Linked DNA regions of Homo sapiens: region 1 is linked to region 2. The links are contacts of gene promoters, found by promoter capture Hi-C in blood cells and fetal thymus (Javierre and others, 2016). All regions are on one chromosome and are shown on one strand. The core of a region is centred on a gene start or on the middle of the fragment in contact, and the rest is flanking DNA. Distances in the headings are between cores, read along the strand shown. Region 1 overlaps GK (glycerol kinase). Region 2 holds the start of TASL (TLR adaptor interacting with endolysosomal SLC15A4).

Region 1 (3,163 bases), core at 172-2,671, 120 kb before region 2:
ACACATTAACTCAAGGCAATATTTAATGATATTAAGGAATTAGGAGAACTAAGAAATAGGATCCCCAGCCGGGCACTGTGCCTCCTGCCTGTAATCCCAGCACTTTGGGAGGCCGAGGTGGGAGGATCACCTGAGGTCAGGACTTGAAGACCAGCCTGGCCAACATGGTGAAACCCCATCTCCACAAAAATACCAAAATTAGCCGGGCATGATGGCGGGTACCTGTAATCCCAGCTACTCAGGAGGCTGAGGTGGAAGAATCACTTGAACTCAGGAGGCGGGGTTGCAGTGAGCCAAGATCATGCCATTGCACTCCAGCCTGGGTGACAGAGTGAGCCTCCGTCTCAAAAAAAAAAAAAAAGTGTGTGTGTATATATATATATAAAACGTATGTGTGTATATATATATATAACATGTTATATATATACATGTTATGTATAACATGTTGTATATATACATGTTATACATAACATGTATATATAACATGTTATACATAACATGTATATATAACATGTATATATATAACATATATATAAAACATATATATATATATAAAATCCCTGAAGTAGGGGTGATGTACTAGGATGAGCACCAAACTAAAGCTTTGGACCTGACTCCTTGGTCTGCCATGTATGAGCAAGTCTCCCAGGCTCTGGGAGCTTTAGATATCCCGTCTGTTAAAGTGAGGGCAAGAATAGAATTCACCTCACATAGCTATGATAATGAAGAAATAATAGCATAAATGTAGAAACCCTTTACAAAATAGAAAATGTCCTCTAGATAGCTGGTATCATTTTATTTCTTTCTTGTTTTCTGGTTAATTCAAAACCTGCTATTTTCTTTTCTTTTTTTTTTTTTTTTTTGAGATGGAGTTTCACTCTTGTTGCCCAGGCTGGCATGCAATGGCACCATCTCGGCTCACCACAACCTCCGCCTCCTGGGTTCAAGTGATTCTCCTGCCTCAGCCTCCCGAGTAGCTGGGAATACAGGCATGTGCCAGCACACCCGGCTAATTTTTTTTTTTTTTTGAGACGGAGTCTCCCTCTCGCCCAGGCTGGAGTGCAGTGGCGCGATCTCGGCTCACTGCAAGCTCCGCCTCCCAGGTTCACGCCATTCTCCTGCCTCGGCCTCCCAAGTAGCTGGGATTACAGGCACCCGCTACCATGCCCGGCTAATTTTTTTGTATTTTTAGTAGAGACGGGGTTTCACCATGTTAGCCAGGATGGTCTCGATCTCCTGACCTCGTGATCCGCCCGCCTCGGCCTCCCAAAGTGCTGGGATTACAGGCGTGAGCCACCGTGCCCAGCAAAACCTGCTATTTTCATTTACTGTATATATTCTTTGAAAATCTGAACCTGGATATTAAGTAAAGGGTAAATTTCATAAAAGGCTTAAAGTGAATCTATAGGAAACCTAGAGGCTATATATCTTGATATATTTAAGTATTACAAGAAGTCTTTGCTTATACTTTCAAAATTAACAAACTATCAACAGGATCTACTATGTGTGTTCAGGCATGTAAAGTGCTCTTTTTTCTTCAGAGGGAGGGACCTCTGATGCTCCTCCTGGAGCATCCTTGATGAAGCATGCAGAAAAAGTAACAGTGCATTTCCAACTAACTGGTCTGGAAAGGTGGTCAATATATCATTTAAAATAGACATTTCAAACTGTATCTATCTAATTGCCCTATTATGGTAAAGCCCAAAGCACATCACAGTTGTACTTTATGAGAATATCAGAATCTCTCATTCCAGGAAACTACCTTAGTCTTTTATTTTAGAACATTACTCTTTAAAAACAAACAAGATTAAGTTTTTGTAAAAATTAAAATCTGACTAGAGCTTATAATAATTTGGAAGGTCACGGAAATTCTAGATATATATGTTTAGTAAATGGACTTCTGCTTGTCTAAAAATAAATGGAAGTGCACTGTATCTTTTCCAAATGAATGGGTACATAATTGGCGGGCAACCTACTCACCACGCTATGAGAGATTTTCTATAGTCAGCAAGGGGGAGAGAGAAGGATAGAAGCATAATATTTTAAATACAAGAGAAAACTAGGCCAGTTCCACGTTTTTTTTTCTAACCATCCTGTGAAACTATTTCTCAAGCATCGTTTCTTTTTCCTTGACCCAAGTCAGTTTGCAGACAGCTATGAAATGATCAAAGCACTTTTACTGTAGATAAGCAGTGACTATGGCTTCCTTAAGAAATTCTATGTTGCCTTAAAAAGCTTTATTATAAATAAAACAGTTAAAAATTCTTGCTCAAGCTTTATCCAGAGCACTTAGTGTTCATCTATATTATTATTAACTTTGTAAGTGAAGTTTCTCATATCTTTCATGAAATGTCTAAGCAATACTTTTTGTAATTTATCAGACTTATTCCTGAGTCTTATCATAAATTCCAGATTTTTGTGCTCAAACACCAGTGCAAATCCTCCTAGAGGTTTTCATTCCTGATGTTTAACCACAGACTCTTAATGATGCTAGGCACACTTTTGCTGAAGCTATGTCTTTACTGGATTTCAGTGAAATCAAAAGTAAAAATGTCCATTACAGAAACTAGTTTAATTAGCAATCCCAAATCAGAAACAGACTCTTTGCTTTCAGTTTCTTTGCTAAATTTTGCTCAGGCAAAGAATCTAATATATAACATAGCTTGGCCATAAAAAAGATTCAACGGGAAAAAGAACACTACTAAATATGCAGAGTCTCTCCGCTAAATTAAAAGCAGACATCACAACCACTAAACAGTTATTTGGATTCAAAGAATAAATTGGCTCATGCCAACATCTAAAGTTAGAGTATCCCATCAATTCTTTAAAAATAATAATACTCAAAGAAAAACCAATTAAAGTTTATAAATGCAAATCCATTGTAAAAAGGACTGTAAAGTTTTTAAGTCACAAAACATAACACAGTTGACTTTTGAATTATGAATAGTAAACTTGTTTTGTAATAAAAAAACTTTAATTATTAGGTTTTTTTTTGTTTGTTTTTTGGTTTTTTGGTGTGTTTTTTGTTTGTTTGTTTGTTTTTTACCATTAGGCCATAGATCTCAGAAGAACTCCGGACATTTGGAAGAATTTCCATTGGAATTCCAAAAAATCTGAAAAACAAGAAGATTGGGTATTTAACACTGTTTTAAATAGACATCTA
Region 2 (3,077 bases), core at 240-2,739:
AATACAAAATTTTAAAAAGAAATATTCTATTACATAAGCATGTATATACATATATTCCTTAAAAATACAAACTGGAAAATGAGTTCTTGCTAAACAATATATGTTAGAGATCTTTTTTTTTCTTTTTTTTTTTTTTTGAGATGGAGTCTCGCTCTGTCACCCTGGCTGGAGTGCAGTGGCACAATCTCAGCTCACTGTGACCTCCACCTCTCGGGTTCAAGGGATTCTCATGCCTCAGCCTCCGAGTAGCTGGGATTACAGGTGCCCACCACCACGCGTGGCTAAGTTTTGTATTTTTAGTAGAGACAAGGTTTCACCATGTTGGCCAGGCTGGTCTCAAACTTCTGACCTCAAGTGATCCACCTGCCTCGGCCTCCCAAAGTGCTAGGATTACAGGCGTGAGCCACCGCACACAACCTACATAGGATTTTAAGTATGCATACGTTCTCATTTACTTGGCCAATATCTTATTTATGGATATAATTTTTTCTAGTCATTTATTTTCTCAAGCAATGCTGCAACAAATATCTTTTCACATAAGTCTTTGTGTACAAGTGTAAACATATAGCTTGGACAAATTTATAAAAAATACAATTGTTGGGTCAAAGGGTATGAATATTTGTATTTGAGAGATACTGGGAAATTGCCCTCTAAATATGTTTACAATCTCATCAGTAGTGTTTGAGAGTGCTTGTTTCTTCACAACTTTGCCCACACCATGTATTATTGTTTTGACCTTCGGTATTTGGAGAGGGAAAACTTTTTTCTTTTTTTTTTCTTTTGAGACGGAGTCTCGCCCTGTCGCCCAGGCTGGAGTGCAGTGGCGCGATCTCGGCTCACTGCAAGCTCCACTTCCCGGGTTCACGCCATTCTCCTGCCTCAGCCTCCCGAGTAGCTGGGACCACAGGCGCCCGCCACCGCGCCCGGCTAATTTTTTGTATTTTTAGGAGAGACGAGGTTTCGCCGTGTTTGCCAGGATGGTCTCGATTTCCTGACCTCCTGATCCACCTGCCTCGGCCTCCCAAAGTGCTGGGATTACAGGCGTGAGCCACTGCGCCCGGCCGAGAAAATTTTTTTCATTTACATTTTTAAAAATTATAAGTACCATTGAGAAATAATACTTCTTAAAAATTATAGATTAGTAACGAAACAGAATTTCCTAAAGTCATATGTGACTTTGGCTTTCTTTTGGGTGAAGGATCCCAGATAATGTACTTTTCTAGAAAGGAAATTTAATTCTGTTGCTAGGGTTCTTACAAAATGTGTAACCATAAACTATTTTAATAAGAGACAGTTTCGTAGATAGGTTTCATTTTTCGAAAAAGGGGAAGAAACACCATTCTGTGGCTTGATGTGGCTTTGTCAGTTACTGCCTCCCCACCTCCCGGGACTTCCCACTGCCTCTTTAGCACAAATCGGACTTGAACAAAAACAACTCTTTTTCCATGGGACCAATTATAAAAAGAATGGCTTTGCACTGAGCAGCTCAGTCTACTGGTCTCATCAGTGAAAGGCTTGTGAAAATTTCTGGAAAGAGCATTGGCTGGCTTGTTCATCTCTCTGTTTGGTCAGTTGCTGTGTTTCTGCCGGATCAGATGAGCAGATTGGTTAGTGAAGGTAAGAAAAAGAAAGCAAAGGACCCTAGAACTCCGCTATTATTTTTTGTCATCTGTCTTCTCACGCTTTCTTAGCCCTTTATCACGAGAGCGCTGATCCATTCTTATGACATCTAAAATGCTTTTCTAGCTTACCATATCAGAGACAAGTGGGAGTTTAAACAAGCATTCAGTGGAGTTGAAAAATAAAGAGAAATTAAGCCCAATACTTCCTTTCCTTACCTCCTCGTGTCCACATTCTAAGCATTTCTAAAACACTTATATTTTTACCTACAATTTTTGACTGATCTGAGCAAATATTTATTGTGTTATTTTTGCAGTCCTCTTTCACTAATTGCCACACTGGTTTAGCTTCTGCATTTTTAAAAGAAGGCCTAAAAACCTAAGCAGGGTTTTGCAGGGACAACACAGCTCTTGAATTCAGTTACGGTGATGCAGTTTTAGAGACGAAAACAATCACAGTCCTTTCCAATTGGATTTGACTCTCAATTATTCAGTTCAGCAAGCTTGTGATAGTGTTTTTCTGTGTGGCAGGATGTATTCAAAATGAATGCGATCTATAGTGAGGATGCTTTTCGACTTTCATCTGGGTGATTTGGGGAAAGCTTCCCTTTTGGTATTAAAGATAGCGCATGTACGAGTGGAGTTTTGTTTGAATTATCTTTAGACTCGCTCAAACATTCTTTGTCTTGCGCATATGAATCTGTGCTTAAATATAGACCTGGTTTGGACAGAATATTTATATTGATATTTTATAACATTTCTTGCATAGGTCAGTGTGAGAAGAAGATTGTTTCTGAGCTTGAGAAGCTTCTGGAGGATTGAAGAGTATTTGAAGTCTGTGTCAAACATCCATATCATAAGTGGAATTTTGGAGATATTCAAAGGTAGTACACTAATTCTATTATCTCAGAGCAAAATGATGTTTGAAGTATTTATATCAAGTCACTGAGACATTTCTCATCTCATATGTAGTGATTATTTTAGATATATAAGATATTGTCCCTCTAGGCTCTTAATAAACATTATACAATGTAAATATGCCTTCATTAACTAAATATGGTTTTTTCCCCCTCCCAATTTTTATTTAGAAATGTTTCAAATCTATATAAAAATTGAAAGAATAGTACAACGAACACCCATATTTTCATCATGTGTATTAATCAGTGGTATCTTTTTGCCACATTTACTTTCTCTCTCGCTTTGTCTTTCTCTGTCTCTGCCTGTCCTTTTCTCTCTCTCTATATGTGTATATATATATTCACACACACGCATGCACATATGCACAGTTTTTTCCCTGAATGGTTTGAAAGTATGTTGCTGACTTTAGGACACATGTCACCCCTAAATTCTTGAGCATGTATCTCCTAAAAATAAAGGCAGTCTTCTATAACACATTACAACACCACGGAAACATAACATCAACACAATACTATTATCTAAGATGTGATACACATTCAA

The links. The method cuts DNA at HindIII sites, captures the fragments that hold promoters and counts their contacts. A CHiCAGO score of 5 or more calls a contact.
Region 1: a fragment that was not itself captured here is called in contact with the fragment with the promoter of TASL in region 2 in 2 of 17 cell types (neutrophils and monocytes); the score reaches 8.4 in neutrophils.

The regions. Positions count from the first base shown.
Region 1 is chrX:30,696,567-30,699,729 of GRCh38, reverse strand. GK (glycerol kinase) reads right to left here. Exons shown (of 21, transcript NM_001205019.2): 8 at 3,047-3,113; 9 at 1,981-1,998. Among named protein-coding and RNA genes, the nearest start is that of GK-AS1, 20 kb to the left of the region's middle. The HindIII fragment of the contact is 1,633 bases long and covers 605-2,237 here.
Region 2 is chrX:30,576,178-30,579,254 of GRCh38, reverse strand. It overlaps TASL (TLR adaptor interacting with endolysosomal SLC15A4), which reads left to right and starts at 1,489. Exons shown (of 3, transcript NM_025159.3): 1 at 1,489-1,617; 2 at 2,389-2,503. RefSeq lists an enhancer at 1,258-1,467. The HindIII fragment of the contact is 8,514 bases long and covers 1-2,124 here.